Regions from separate parts of the Homo sapiens genome. Here regions 1, 2, 3 and 4 are each linked to region 5. The links are contacts of gene promoters, found by promoter capture Hi-C in blood cells and fetal thymus (Javierre and others, 2016). All regions are on one chromosome and are shown on one strand. Each heading gives the region's core, a stretch centred on a gene start or on the middle of the fragment in contact. The rest is flanking DNA. Distances are from core to core; before and after follow the strand shown. Region 1 holds the start of LOC124902107 (dapper homolog 3-like). Region 2 overlaps MOB3B (MOB kinase activator 3B). Region 3 overlaps C9orf72 (C9orf72-SMCR8 complex subunit). Region 4 overlaps MOB3B (MOB kinase activator 3B). Region 5 holds the start of IFT74 (intraflagellar transport 74).

The links. The method cuts DNA at HindIII sites, captures the fragments that hold promoters and counts their contacts. A CHiCAGO score of 5 or more calls a contact.
Region 1: a contact is called between a fragment that was not itself captured here and the fragment with the promoter of IFT74 in region 5, in 12 of 17 cell types (activated CD4 T cells, total B cells, total CD4 T cells and 9 more). The highest score is 11.4, in activated CD4 T cells.
Region 2: a fragment that was not itself captured here is called in contact with the fragment with the promoter of IFT74 in region 5 in 3 of 17 cell types (total B cells, naive B cells and erythroblasts); the score reaches 6.2 in total B cells.
Region 3: a fragment that was not itself captured here is called in contact with the fragment with the promoter of IFT74 in region 5 in 7 of 17 cell types (activated CD4 T cells, total B cells, non-activated CD4 T cells and 4 more); the score reaches 10.2 in activated CD4 T cells.
Region 4: a fragment that was not itself captured here is called in contact with the fragment with the promoter of IFT74 in region 5 in 1 of 17 cell types (total B cells); the score reaches 7.3 in total B cells.

Annotation. Positions count from the first base shown.
Region 1 is chr9:27,525,599-27,528,749 of GRCh38, forward strand. The region is part of intron 1 of MOB3B (MOB kinase activator 3B); the gene reads right to left. It overlaps IFNK (interferon kappa), which reads left to right. Exons shown (of 2, transcript NM_020124.3): 2 at 409-900. It overlaps LOC124902107 (dapper homolog 3-like), which reads left to right and starts at 2,858. Exons shown (of 2, transcript XM_047424279.1): 1 at 2,858-3,128. The coding sequence starts at 2,858. RefSeq lists a silencer at 2,944-2,993. The HindIII fragment of the contact is 409 bases long and covers 1,543-1,951 here.
Region 2 is chr9:27,470,133-27,473,323 of GRCh38, forward strand. The region is part of intron 1 of MOB3B (MOB kinase activator 3B); the gene reads right to left. Among named protein-coding and RNA genes, the nearest start is that of IFNK, 53 kb to the right of the region's middle. The HindIII fragment of the contact is 4,612 bases long and covers 1-3,191 here.
Region 3 is chr9:27,555,820-27,558,753 of GRCh38, forward strand. It overlaps C9orf72 (C9orf72-SMCR8 complex subunit), which reads right to left. Exons shown (of 11, transcript NM_018325.5): 7 at 2,672-2,788; 8 at 742-977. Among named protein-coding and RNA genes, the nearest start is that of C9orf72, 16 kb to the right of the region's middle. The HindIII fragment of the contact is 1,343 bases long and covers 962-2,304 here.
Region 4 is chr9:27,496,242-27,499,074 of GRCh38, forward strand. All of the region lies in intron 1 of MOB3B (MOB kinase activator 3B), which reads right to left. Among named protein-coding and RNA genes, the nearest start is that of IFNK, 27 kb to the right of the region's middle. The HindIII fragment of the contact is 813 bases long and covers 1,161-1,973 here.
Region 5 is chr9:26,954,847-26,957,985 of GRCh38, forward strand. It overlaps IFT74 (intraflagellar transport 74), which reads left to right and starts at 1,566. Exons shown (of 20, transcript NM_025103.4): 1 at 1,566-1,670. It overlaps IFT74-AS1 (IFT74 antisense RNA 1), which reads right to left and starts at 1,461. Exons shown (of 2, transcript NR_121605.1): 1 at 1,281-1,461; 2 at 934-1,169. RefSeq lists enhancers at 778-1,513, 1,514-2,248 and a silencer at 2,845-3,139. The HindIII fragment of the contact is 1,304 bases long and covers 1,087-2,390 here.

The sequences.
Region 1 (3,151 bases), core at 497-2,996, 570 kb after region 5:
TCATTTAACCTTTGAGAGTCTGTGATTCTAATGTAGCACACTCTTCATTCCTGATGTATATTGTTTGATTCCTACATCTAAAGGCATGGAAAATGCTGTGGAAAAGTATGGTACAGAATCTGTCTTTTACTGTTTTTCATGTGCCTGAAATAAAATGTCCAGAGTCATAATATGGAACAATTTTACATTAGATTTTCCTAGTTAGAAGACTACATTCTGTGAGTTAATTTAACTAGCTATTCCAATAATACATAATACTTTAATATCTTTTATCTTTTTAAAAGTTACTTTGCAGCCAGACTACCTAGATTATTTACTTTTCTAGCACGGCCCTTCATCTATATTAATTCACCACCTAGCTGACATGGATTTTCTCTTCCTCTCGCACCTCTATCTACCCCATTTCAGAATCATCTACCTTCAAGCAAGAATTAACAGAGATTGTGGCTACGCAAATGCACCAAAAAAGGGTGAAATATATCTGAAATGTACCTGGTTCTGCCCTTGGAAGCCATTTCCTGCTCATGCCACTAACAGCATGCTGCCAAACTGTTCAGATTCAAGATTATTCCAAGCGCAGGGCCCAAATGTTATAGCCAAAGAAAGTCTTATGATAAAAGTGAGGCAAATTTCAGCCAAGAAGTTAGAAGAGATGTTTAAAAGAACAAGAACAAATTGTGGATCATGGTATATGCAGGCTATCAGCAGAAGGATCAGACAATAAAATGAGTTAGTGCAAACCATTTAGTAAAAATAACTATCAGCAGAGTTGTTCCAGATTAAAAATAGTACTACAAGCTTGTAAAGGAGTTAGGACATGCAAGCTACTGAGCATAAAATATATACTTGCTATTTTTCATGACTTTCTCTAATAAAGTCTTTGCCTGTTCTCTCTAATAACTTTACTGGAATGAGGTCAATTACTTTAGTCATTTATGGTTGCAGTCCTGCCAAGTGTTTGCTATCCTGGAGGAAAGAGAATGGCTGAGAAAGCCGAGCTGAGCTTTCAGTTAATATACATTTTCTGAATGTGTGGCAGGGGTAGAAGTCAGAACAGTATGCTTTTTTAAAGATCACATCTAATCAAAAGAAAAAGGATAACATCTCCACTGGAAAAAAGGCAAGGGCACAAACTGACATCATCACAAAGGAAGAAATACTACAGACAATGTGAAAAATGTTTAATCTAACTTGATTTTTAAATGCAAAATAAGATGACAAGATACTCCCATCAGTATGACAGAAAAGAAAAAGAATGACAATATAAAATGTGAGTGGAGTGTAAGGTATAGGAGCCTTTGTGCATTACTGGGAGGAAAGTAAACTGGGACATGTTTTCTACAGGGAAATATGGCAATCTTCAATATCCTAAAGAACGCATCAGCCCCTGTGACCTAGGTATCACGTCTTCCGAAATTTATTCCAAGGAAATAGGTTTATGATATCTCCCCCTTTTACATTCATTTTCACCATTCGATATTTTCTATTTTTTCCTATAGTGATTTTTTTGGGAAGATTTTTAATTCTAAAAGAAACTGTACAAGCTTAACTTCCACTATAATTACCCTGTTTTCCTTAGCGGGGTAGGCCAAGACAAGAAATGCTCTTTTATTTTGTTAATGATGCCTTTGGGTACTTCTTGAGTAACTTTGGTCTTTTTTGTTGCTTCTGGGTTGCTGCTGCTAAATTTCAAAGGAATCCTTCCTTGGGGATCATTTTCATAATGAAATGTTTGTAAAGTGCCTTGCAGTACTTCAAAGATGTTGCTTTTTTTTCTTTTCCTGGTTCCACCGTTGGGAAGGTAAAGAGATATAATACCCAGAAATCACTAGAGAAAGTGCTCTATGTGTCGCATTCCTGGCTTAGCAGTCTCACTTCTTTTATGTTAAATGGAAACTCAAAAGTTCTGTTGAGTTCGCAAAGGGAAAACTCTCAGAGCTGTGCAGAGCCAAGCTTCTGGTATCCACTGACAATGTCTGAGTGGGTACATAGATCATAATGTTCCTACAGAAGCCTCTTTCTTCCCCTGGGTTGAGGAGGAATCAAAAGTGTAATTGAGCTTCCTTGGAAGAGGGACTCATTGGGGATCCCACAGGAAAAGCTGGCAACAGCAAGTCAACTGCAAGGCTATGGGGTAGCATAGGTTCTAACAGGTGCACAGTCTCAGTCAGCCTCCCCTCAGAGGCAAGACAACTCGCTGGGCACCATCTGGGGACCCTGACTTCTCAGAGTAGCTACTTTGCTTTTGCCCCAGTTCTTTAATCAATAATCCACACTAAGAATGAACACAATGTGTAAGCATCTGACTTGTGCAGGGAAACAGGGCCGCCTGCAACCCAACAAGCGCACCCACAGGGGAACTCGGGACCATCCTAAGCCACTTGTTCTCTGGGACGTGGAAGCAGGAACTGTGCTCTAGCCGTATCTGTGTTGCGTCGTCTGAGTCCTCTTTTTCTACAATGAAGAAAGGGGACTTGGGATTTAAACTTGGAGCGGTACTCAAAGCCAGAACTCCACGTTCATTCCGGAGTGAACCACCACACTACTATTTCCAGGCAACGTCATAAGGCTTCCTCGTTATTTGCATCTTCGTTCTCTTTTTGGCGACTAGCCTGCCCTCCCGCCCTTGGAAACTTGTGGACCCCAGAATCTCAGCTTTCCGCCTACCAAAGGTGCCCCGATCCCCTCCCACTGCCCTAGCAGCGGCCCAGCCCCAACGCCTTTGGCTAGAGATTGAAATCCTCTGGAACCAACCACTGGACGCTCTGGATTGGGGCGGAACGCGCTTCCACTGTCTCGAAAGCAGCACCTTCTCGGATTTGAGCCTTTGCGGCGCGCCTGGGCTGAGATCTGAGAAATGCGCCCTGGGCCACAGGCAGCAGCGGAGGCGGGGAAGGAACAACTTTCCCTCCGCCCTCTAACCACAAGGGCGGGGTGGGGCGGCCTCGCTGGGGTCGGGCTCCTCCACTTTCCCAGCTGGGATCCCCTGCCGGAGCTGGCGTGGGGGCCGGGGAGGGGGACCAGAGGGGCTTCCTTCTCTCCCCAAGCCCCGCCAGATGTTGGAAAGGCAAACAATAGGGGAAACGCGGAGAAACAAAAGGCCATTCGCCACGATCTCAGTCGGCTGCGTAGAGAGATCTCTGTGGGGAGG
Region 2 (3,191 bases), core at 283-2,782, 520 kb after region 5:
AGAAAACTACCCCAACTTAACTGTCTTTTTAGATCTATGGAGAGATGTAGATATAGATATTATTCATATTCCTGGTGATTTTTAAGCCTTTTAAAGCAACATAGCTCCTTTGTTCCTCCAAATGAAGTTTTATGCAGGCCCTCAATTTTATAAAAATAAATAAAAATTATTTATCTCTTCTGCAGCTGAAGCAGGGTGTCTACTCCTCTCAACAGCCACTGAAACACCTCTGAGAACTTTCAGGTTTCGCTTGATCAATCGGACAACTCCCCAGACCCCTAATGCTGACTGCACTTGTCAGTGGCTAAATCCCTGCCCCTGCCCTTTCTTTTGCCTTCCGCCTGCCATAATCCTCCAGCCTCCAGGCGACTTCTCCCTACAGTGCTGTTAGGAAGTGACTCTTGTCTCTCCTTTGCTCCAAAGCTCTGAATCTGTAGCCCTTCCTTTGTATCTAAACAGTCCGATTTGTTGGTTATTCTCACAGCTCACCCCCAACTTCTGGCCCATCTATAATCAGGGCCCACCCACCCATCTGTTAGCCCTGTGGGCCCATCAAAGCAGGCTTCAAACACAAGCTGCCACCTCTGGTGGAGGTTCAGCCTACCCCTTCCCCTTCTCTCCTGACCCTTCCCTAATCTGGCTTTGTTTCTGCCATCCCTGCCGCACTCATTTGGAACCCTTGCTTTTCTCAGCAAATATTTATGGGTTTGACTTGTTCTTATTGAGTTCTATACTCTTCCCCCAGCACTGCCTCCCCCTGGCCTTTTATCTTTTGTTTGTTTGTTTTTTTCTCTTTCACTTTTCCCCTTTTGAGCTCTGGCGGCTCTGGTAGAAGGTGGTGGCTGCTGAAGGAAAAAATACAACCCCTTCTCACCCTGAACCATCTGTCCACGGACTAACTAGTAAGTTCCCTCTGGGTTTCCTGGGGACACTCGGAAATGGCAGAAAGACCAAGATCACTTGCACCTGGGGTGCAAGTTTAAAATGCAGACTCTAGCATCCCACCCCTCACCAGTGGATGTGTGGACTCTGCTGCTCTCCAGGATTTAAGAGCTCCCTGAGCCAGGGAGTCTGACATGCCTGGCCTGGCATATCCAGTGGTCCATGGGCCAAAAGTCATTTCCTGAGGCGAATAGGCAGGAGACAAAAGTGGTCATCTGAAGAGTTGTATTTCCAGCAGTAAGAATGGCAGAAAAAGTCCTTGGGGGAAAGGAGAATTAACCTGAATCATTATTGGGAATATACAACATGGCCCTGCCCCTACTGGTCTACACCACCTGTGGAGAGGCTAGTTCAATGAACCACCCCTGCGCTTTGTGGCTCTTGGTCACTGTGTTGTATAGACTGGTCGTTAAGTAAATGGATCTGAGATCAGACTGCCCGATTTTGACTCCCAAATCTACCATTTCTAGAGTGTGGGCTCTGGAGCTTACTATATCACATTGCTCAACGTTAGCTTCCTCTTCTTCCATTTCTGTAAAATGGAGATAAAATATCCATCTCAAAGGGCTGCCATGAGAGTTAAATTACATTATCCAAATAAAGCATTTGATATAGCAGCAAGCGCAAGGTAAGTTTGTAATATGCATTAGCTTTAATTCTTATCACTAACATCATGCTTTCTTGAACTTACTCATATACATATGTCTCCCTCCTTCTGGATAGGGAACTCCTGAAAAGCAGATCCCACAGGCTGCTACGTTCCCTCTCTCCTAAAACACTCTTAGTGGGTTATACCTTGCAGGATTGTGGTGATCAACTAAGACAGTAGGTGAAGAGAGGTTAGCAGCGGGTCTGGCACACTGTAGGCCAGAAAGAATCATCCCGAGTCCAAGGGTGCTTTTTAAATACCAAATATCTTAATCCTGATGTTTTTATGTAACCACAATGTGTAGACTTGTCAAAAATGTTAAAAATAGAAGAAACCAAAAATCAAAGAGAAAAATCTTCTCATAGTTTCTAATCCAACTTGCATGGAAATAGTTATCTTGCAAAAGAGTGAAGGGTGTAAATTTTTTCATTCATTTAGGGGAGTTGTTTTGGTTTTTCTTGTTTTATTCTTTGGGTAGTTTATTTGTTTTTCCCACACTATTTTTTTTTTAATGACAAGTAAGGGTGACACCACTTTTCTTAAAAACAATAAAAGCTACAGAAAAAAAAAAGGCTTTAAAAGTCTCCAAAGGCCTCAGGAACTTTTGCCCAGAGAAGTGTACTCCTCAAGCAAAGCCATGGAAAACAACATCTGCCACAGGCGCAGGGCTGAGCCAAACCCCTGCGGCGAGGGCTCGCTTTATTTTTGGTCCAAGCTGACAGTACAGGAAGCCACATCCACTGACTTCTTTTTCATTTAAGATTCTACATTCATCAATACGTCTTGTTAGGTAAGCCTCCAGTGGATTTCCTCTATTTGGTCTAAGAAATCTGAAGAGGAAAAACAGAAACACACAGTCACCATTCCTAGGAAAATAGTATCAGCCCAGCAAGAGACCAAAACAGGTATCTGGTAAAAGCTCCCACTCTATTCTCTTTAAACTGCACTTTATTCTAAAAAAAAAAAAAAAAAAAAAAAAAAAGAGCTCCCTGAGTTTAAACAGTGTTTGATTTTATATAAGCACCAGATGATTCTAATTCCTTTTGGAAAAAGGTGGTGGAGGATTCCATAAAAACTCTGATAATCATTTCTTCTACCAACTTTAGTCAACAAAAAAATTGAAAGGCTTAACGTAGGTGAAAACTGAAAAATACAGAGTTCCGCAAACACAAGTTAAGACTGTCATTTTTAAAAAGAAGCATCTAAAAGTCACTTTGGTGCATCTCAAATGCACGTCTTTACATAACTGATCAAGATACAAACCATTTGCAAACATTTATGTTTTAAATCACAGATAGCTATTCCAACTCAGAGATTTTAAGTGATTACACAATGAACTGGTCCTCATTTGCTCTCCCTTAATTTTCCCTAACCTTGCATGGCTTCTAGAAAAAGACAAAAACTGACAGACAAGGGTAGTATGGCCAAGGAGCCCTGATTTATTTCAGCTTTGAAAGGCCACTACACTTGGATTCTCATTTCTGCAAGGAATGCAATCCAGAGAGCTGAGCTCGCTGTCCTGAATAAAGTACACGTTTTTCTCATCTAGCGGAGTAATCTTGTGAAATGTGAGTACAATCTGCCCAGTGTCTGAGGGAGG
Region 3 (2,934 bases), core at 383-2,882, 600 kb after region 5:
CCCAAAGCTCTGTTCTTACAGGCATGAGCTACTGTGCCTTTTTTCAACTGATAAAAGAGAAACACAAAAGTATACTATAATTCTTTTCCTGATTTCAGAACATCTTTTAAGTGTTTACTTAGGGTTTTAGGATTATAGATTTATCATCATCATTTTTTTTTTCAAGTTGGGTCCATGCTCAACAATTAATTATCATTACTTTTCCTTTTGAATTTACTGTTCAGGCTTTTTTTTTTAAAAAAAAATAAGAAGTGAATAACAATATAAAATGCAAAGTAAAAAAATGTTCCATTAATATATTTTAACAGTTTTGCTGTATTTTATATTCATATGTCAAGAAAAAAAAGACTTAGAATTACTTCTTTGGTTTTGTTAATAAGTCCATTCAATAACTGTTACATAATAGACTATACACAATGTAGGGGCTGGGGCTGGGGCTGTCTGGTTGGCCACTATTAAGCCCGGTACCTAGAACAGTGCCTAGGAGCTCAATATATATTTATTAAACAAATAGTTAAATATTTACTTTAAGGGTTAATCTTACCTATTTTAGGGTAAACACAATTGTATGGAAAAAGAAGAACATTTAAGAAAAAAATGCTTGATTAAATGTTTCTTCAAGCATAATTCTGCTGGTAATATTTCTTTCTTTTTAAATGCAACTTCTGTTTTGTTTTTATTCGTAAAAGACACAATTTCATATTGCTTGACTACAGTACCAGCAGGCAGAGCATTACGTACAAATCAGGAGTAAAGCTTTCGTCAGTGTAGATGATCGTATCCTGAGCCATGTCTTCTTCTGAAGTGGCTCTCCAGAAGGCTGTCAGCTCGGATCTCATGTATCTACGCTGATTATAAATATGTTCATGACAGGGTGGCATCTGCTTCACAGTATTGACATCCACATCTATGTGTGTGGTGGGATATGGAGCATACATGACTTGCCGGAAAGGCAGCACAAAGCTTCCAGTTGAATCCTGTCAAAATAAAAGGAAAATTTACTGTCTTACATGCCAAACGATATGAATAATTGTTTTTTAATTTTAAAAAATGGTCTCTGATTTAGCAAATCCATCTCTAAAAATTTATCCTAAGAAGCTATTCATGAGTGTGTGCAAAGTTTTAGTGACAGAAGTGTTCAGTATAGCATTGGTTTCAATAGCAAAACATCAGAATGACCTAAGCATCCAAAGGAAGTGGTTAAGTAAATAAAAATGAATTTATTATTTGGCATCTATAGATGAAGTTGTTGAAGTTTGTGTTGATATTCAAAGAGGCTTAGAATCTGCTGTGAAAAAAGCAGATTAGAACATGCAGAGATGATCCAGTGGGGGTGGGAGTCTTAAAGAAAATACATGCAAAAGGGAAAAAAAGACTAGAAAGAGATATACCAAATATTAACAGTGGGTATTCACTGGATTCAAAATTACAAGTGTCTTTTAATTTCTTAATTATTCTATGCACCTCAATGAGTATGTATTTTTATAAAACAAATTTACTTCTTTCCTAATCAGTTGGGGTAGCCAGTTACCATGTAATAATAACCTACTGCGTATGAGGCACTGTGCTATGAACAGAACAGAAGAAAGAGGCTATTTCCATTTTTTTACTATTATAATGCTGTGATAATCATCTTTGTATAATGTCAAAGGTATTTTCTGGAAAACTATATGATTTGTATTTGCATGGAGAACTATTAAATATTTTTTCATTAGATCATAGTTTTGAAATTTCCTCTAGGCATCTGGTATAGGTCCCTTTCAGAACTAAAATTATATAATTAAATGAGAGGGTGCTGAGGAAACAAAAGTATTAAGCACTTTATTATGCCTTTAACAGGAGAAGTTCTAATTTACAGATATGTATAACTCAAATAGAAACTACGTTTCCTTTAACTAGTTTCTATATTTAAATACTATCATTCTGAGTTCATAGCAGCACATTATTGAAAATGCACAAAAGCCTAATATAACTTGTATTTGCAACAATTTTTAAATTTTTTTATTTCATTTTGCCGTGGCTACATCCTCAAGAAAGTAGTCACTATGAGACAATCACATAACCATTAGGAAAGCTATTTCTTCACGTCTTGGGACTATAATTGAAATAACAATAATAGATTCAACAAGGTGAACAACTTTCTTCCCTTTAAGTATTATAAATAATTGCTAATTTACATTTCTCTGTTTTGCTCCTTGACAGTAGACTCAAATAAAAGAAAAATACAATTTTTTTCTAATATATATTATATATAGAAATATATATATTTTAGTACACATACATAGGAATTGCTTAAATCCTATAAGCTTCTTAAAGATGTTTAAAATTTTTTTTCAATAAAATTCAAATCTATTTAGTTAAAAAGAAATGATCTTATTTTTGATGTGCAACCTGATTTAAGCATGTGTTAAAAAAAAAAAAGTCCTGAGGCTAGACATGTAGGAACAGGGACCCACCTGGAACACAAAGGGTATTCTATGGTGTTTCACTGATGATACTAACTATAAATCCATAAGACATATAGTCTATGTGCAGAACTGTGTAAAGGAAGTCAGTCTCTGGGCATGTCAATATGAGATACATTAAATGCTAATATTTAAGATTTGTCTATAAAGAGTCTCAAAAATGATTTTAGAAAAGTGGTTTCACTTGTGATAACTAGAAACTATACCTTTAGCAGGCCTTGTACAAAGAGCCCTGACTCATATTTAAATGATGATTCTGCTTCACATAACCTGGAGCATTTTCTCTCTGCTGGAGTCAGAAAAAGGCATAATGTTCTGACTATCTATAAAAGAAAATATTTTAGCATTAAAACATGAAGTAAAAAGACCACTGATTTGCTTATGAAAGATATCTGAAATTTTAATTGTTATTATCAATAAAACATATCCTAAGAAATAAGTATTCTTTAGTCACCTGGAATCCATGGGA
Region 4 (2,833 bases), core at 317-2,816, 540 kb after region 5:
CCAAGTAAACCACTATAGCAAAGTCTGGTTTTATTGCCAGGAGATAGAAACCTGTTAAACTCAGAAGGACCACTGAAAGTGTTAAGTTTCAATGGACAGCAATAGGAAGCACTTGCCCAAACGTGATCTATTTACATAGCATGCATTCTTCTGATCAGACTCTCAGGTTATTCGATTGGTCAGTTCAGGGCCTGCCTTCCTATGGCTCTTTTGTTGCAAAGTGGGACGTCACATGTAAGGACAGTATAATGTCAACTTCTAAACTTCTCCAGGTACATGTAAAAGTTTAGTTCTACAGCCTAAATATTAAAAAATATGGATGTGGTTAACCGTGGTTCATCTCAATAGAATAATAGGACTCCAATAAATATGAGGCATTCCATTTAAAATAGGGAAACTGTAATTAGGTGTGTTTTAAAATTTAGCTCTGGTTTAATCAAGTCAGCCTAAGCAGTCCAACATATTAGTCTTTGTCAGTAAAGGAATCCATCCACTCTAAACTCTCCCTGGGCTTCTGAAGAACTTTAAAATTGTTCATTAATTAATGCTTTCAGCACTCCTACAGCCTCATTATGCTGTTGTTATTAAGCATTTTATTTTCTTGGTCCCAAGGGTTCCCAAAGCAAATACATGTTCCCCAGCAGACATTTATGTTTTCCTCCAGAAGAGTTGGTTTTCCATTCTTGATCTAAAACAAATGTTAATTAAAACGATGGTTAATATGGCCCACACTTTTCCCAAACATTTTCAAAGTTGGCAGCATTCCATTCTCCTCTTCCTATATTCCAAGAAACTCCAGCAAGTGATTAGTCTTCTTCATAGAGTAAAAATATCTAGACAAAAGCAGTCAAAGAATATTCTGAGTAGCTTCCCAGAAAGATATTCTTAGAAAAGCTCCCTGTTTGGGGCTCTTATACATCAGAGAGCTTCAATTCCTACAAACTTTGTGGAGGTTACTTTAAAGGCCAACTACCTTTTGACTCACAAATCACTTCTGGGAAATTTTCCTAAGGAAAAAGCATAGATTTCCACAAAGCTTGGATGTGAAAGCTTGTGAATGTCTTTATCACAACATTGTTTAATATTTAAATTCAGAAAAACCTAACTTCCCAAAAATCATGGAGTATCCATACTATAGAATTCTATATAGACATATGAAAAGCTTTAATAAAATATTTAAGGATATTAAAATATTTATGATTTAGTATTATACAAATATAAGAAGACAATGAGAATAATTTCTAGAATTATCACAATTTCCTAAAAAATATATATACATATTTGACTGTAAAGAAATAAACTCAGAACTTACTAATAATTATGTCTAGTTTCAGGTGATTTTAATTTCTTTTCTGTACTTTCCTAAATTTTTGTAGTTTTATATGTTCTAAATTAAATATATATTACTTTGTAATTAAAATATAAAATGTTTTACTTATTCCTTTCTCTTAGCAATGTGAATATAGTCTTCCTACATGGGGAATTAATCACTAGATTAGTAGGAAATTAATGAAATTAACAATGGATGAACAAAAAGTTAACTTACCACATACATTTGGCTTTAACTTCTTGTATGTAAATAAATTCCTCCCAGTAGATTCTCTACCAACTACCTCCAGTTTCTATTAGCTGATCCTTGTTTAGAAGCAGTCCACTGATTTTTAGTAAATCAAAATGAAACTCCAAGAAAGACAAGAAGATGAAATGTGAAAAGGAAGCTGGCCTTGGTGCTATGCACAGTGATGGAAACCATGAATATGAATAGATGGAGCATTCGGATAGCAGGATAATAGAAGAGGGAAATGCATTCATTTGACAGCTGCCAACTCCCCCTCCCTGCACTGTCACTTCCCGGCTGCCCACCCCCTTCTCCAGGCCTTGATTCCCAGCCCACAGAAACGCCGTGGTGCGTGTAGCCTCTATGGTGTTCTCACACTCCAAAAGCGCAGAAAATAAAAGGCCACTATGTTGAAAGCTTGTGCCTCATAGAGTAACAACAGTGCTAAAAGTGCTTAAAAATACGTTACTACTTTTCATATCAATCACAGCGTTTTCCAAGCTACTCCCCAACCTACTGTGAGGTACAAGGGTGAGCATTGTTTAATTGGCTTTGGGAGTCGTATGAGCTGTGCGAGACCTTTAATTAGAGGAGCTGGTGGAATAAGCGTGTGATGTGTGTGTTAGGGAGGGGTGGGCTGGTTCTGCCATGGTCTTTGTAATCCCTTTGCAAATGCACCTTTGGACAAACTTAAAAGAAAGTAGAGGAAAGTTAGAAGAACTTGCTTCTTACTAAAAGAAGTTCAAGGTAGCAGTACCCTAGGTTTTGTTCATGTGCCTAATCTCTGAATTCAAATACCACTTAATAATGATGCTTAAACTGTTTATTCTCAATGTCAGAATGTTCTCATCTAGGTCAACAGAGAAAACCCTGATTTGTAGTACTGGGGTCTCATCCCAGAGACTGTTGGTGCTGAGGCACATGCACCATTGAAAGGGGAAAGTTATTCAGTACTAGCAGCAGTTGCTATGTAGAGATAAAGACCTGACATTGCTGGATCTTATGATTCTTTAAGCGTAATTGGAAATCTATTTTTTAGGTGAAATCTGTATTTTTATAGGTTGATAACTTAAAAGAAAAATCAACACTTTCTATGAGCAAACAAAACATCTCTGTGGGCCAAAATAGGCCTGTGGACCTCTGATTCAGGAAGAAGAGGATCTTAACACAAGATTTTTTAAGCACATTTTAAAGTGCACCAAATTTATCTGTATATGCATAAATTATTATCCAATAAATTCAGTAGAAAAGAACCATGAATTTAAATTCTAAACC
Region 5 (3,139 bases), core at 316-2,815:
ATATAACCTTAAAAGCAACAGAACCTAATACATAATGATCCAAAGTCAAATAAGATATGGTGCCTACTCTAAGGAAGCTCAGAGGCAAATAAGTGAGATGTATTCCTATTCTCTATTCCTTTTTCATCATGAAAAAGAAATGGGGACAGGGATCAATACTTACTACCTAAATGAGCTTAAGCAAATTATTTAATCTCTTTAAAACTTGGATAATAGTATCTGTCCTGCCAATTTCAACTGTTAATATCTGTCAGGGTCCTTAAGTGCAAGGAACAGAAATCATCTATAAATGATATAAAAGCTGAAAATGAATTTATTAAAGGACATTAAGCAGCTCACAGACTCTCCCAGAAGCTGAAGAAACAAGCTAGAGGTTCTCCTCCCAATAAAGCCTCTGAGTACCTAACACTGCAGCTTGCAACAACACACTGATGCTGGACACTGGTTGCTGGTGATAGAACATTGCAGTCTCGGAAACGATGTAGTTACTGCGGCTGTCACCCTTACTTCAACAGACTCTCTGAAGTCCTGCTTCTGGTTGTCATTCAAGTTTGAGTTGAGTCCACCAAATTAGATTGGAGAGTCTAGCAAGCAATAATACTCATGTCCCAGTAATAAGGAAGACTAGGAAAGCCAGTATCTGTCACTTTCAGTTCCTGTAAGGGTGTTGGGGGGCAGGGTAAGGGAGAAACTCTGCCAAAAGGATGACAAATGGCCACTGCAAATAGGGTGAGCTCAAATGAGATAATTACATGAAAATGTTTCACAAACTAAGGGAGAATTCAGCCACATAACATTATCTCATTTTGTGTTGTATTGATTTTTAACTCCTCGAAGGCAGGCAAGTTGGAAATAATGTGTAAAATAATGTTAAAATCCCAATACATATGCAATCACATTTAAGCTGTTATCAATGAAGATTGGAAGGAAACATACAGTAAAAGTTATTTTATTAGAGAAGTGGGATTTAAGGTGAAGTAGTTCTTAAATTAAAAAAAAAAAAAAAAAGGACACTTTCCATTGAATTCACAGTCTTCCCCACAAACTTGGATCCAAATTCTAATGAAAGGAAGCTTAAAGACGCAAAGCTTCTGGTGAAAGCAGGAACGGAACAGTTGGTGCCAGAATCGCATCCATACTTCATGATGCGTTGTGTACGCTATGCCGTCCTAATAGGAAGGAAAACTACCACAAATTAGGAGTTTAGAAAATTGCACAATGCTGCCTACCACTTAACTTCAAATGTAACCTGTTAACAACGTTAGCCGACGTGAGGTTACCTAGGGACATAGCAAAACTCGCTAGAGTTACTTCAAGTAAGGCACACGGAGGTTGCTCTGATTATCAAGAAAACCAAACGTTCACATAAAATGTTTGTCTTCCAGCCGCCCCGCTGTTTTCCACTTTTTCCAAAAAGCACTGAAGCGTGGTGAAGAAACAAACATATCCTCAATTCTCGCGAGAGCTCCGTGTGTAACCAAGGGCTGAGGCGGAGGATTGGTCACTCAGGATGAGGAGCCTCCGCTATCCCGCCCCCGTTGCCGGGATACGCCGCGGCGCACGGCAGTTAGTGGGTAGGCCTGAGAGCCGAGGAAAACTGAGCGTGGGCCTCAGAAAGAAGTTAAGGCACCCGCGAGCCGGGCAACTGCCCTCCTTCCGCGCCGGCGGAGGTGAGAATCCCCGGGTCCCATCTCTTCCTCCCTCCCTCCCACGTCTGTTCTCTTGCCTTGGAGATGCTGATCCGCTCCAAACAAAACAAATTCAAACTCGGTCTTAGCTAACTGTTACCGTCGGGCCTGTAGCCAGGCCAGGCATGTACCAATTCTAGTCGAGCGAAGGTTGCGAACAGACCTCCTCCAACAGCCCGACCCCTCCCCGACCCCCCGCAGGAGACCCGCCAAGCACAGAGCAGAGGGAAGGACCGCGATGGGCTGAAGGATTTTAGTCAAAGCAATACATTTCTGCCTCTTACAGTGGAAGGGACTTATTTCTGTCTGTTGATCACAGTGCGGGCAGTTAGCAACTTTCCACTTATTCACCTGTGTGAGAATGGTTGGCTTAGGGAGGATAACGATAGTAATAATAATTAGAAGCAGATGTTTTAAATGTAATACTTATCGTCTTCACAACAGCCCTGCAAGGTAGATGTCACCCTTCTGTTTTACAGAAGATGAAATCCTGAGGGGTTAATTAAGGTGGCAAGATTATGCAGCCGCTAACTTTGTCAGCACTAGTTTGTATCGCTAATCATTCTGGATCCAAAGGCCAGGCTGCCTCTCTGTGTGAATAATTGGAAATTGTGTGACTCTTTGATTGAATAACCCCGAAGTTAGTGGTATATTTGTTGCTAATGCCCGCCTCTTAATCCCACTGGTAATAATATAATGGTAAGCTTTTTTTCACCACAGTAAAACGGTGGCAAAGAAAATTGGGTGAAATTTTTTATGTTGTACATTTTCTCAAAGTTAGCAGGAAACCTAGAGTAATATCTTTTCCACTGGAAAGAGATGTTTATTGTACTCGTTTTCTTCTGGAAAAACCATTTTGATCATACACCGTCTTCCTTTTCAAAGAGTCATTTCATGAAATTCCTTTTTCCATTTGAAATTCTTTTGCTTTGTACATAGAGTTCAAAATGGCAAGGAATTAGAATCAGGGAGCTAGTGGGGTCAGGAAGATTGATGTGAACATATTCAAATGAGATATCTGAATGGAAATTTCAGATAAACAATTGAAAACTCAAAATTGGTGCCCAGTTGAAAGGGCAGAACTGTAGACATTGATTAGTGAGCCGTACACATAGTTGGAGTTATAAAGATGCATGACTGTAGAAAGGATAGAAGCAGTCCAAGGACTGATTACGAGTAATGCTAAGAAAAGTCAGAAAAGTAGTACTGGACATAGAGTGTAGAAACAGAGAAATCATTTTAGTCCAACACACGCTTTGTTTGCCTTTTTTTTTTTTGAGACGGAGTCTTGCTCAGTCGCCCAGGCTGGAGTGCAGTGGCGCGATCTCGGCTCACTGCAAGCTCCGCCTCCTGGGACTACGCCCGCCACCACGCCCGGATAATTTTTTTTTTGTATTTTTAGTAGAGATAGGGTTTCACTATGTTAGCCAGGATGGTCTCCATCTCCTGAT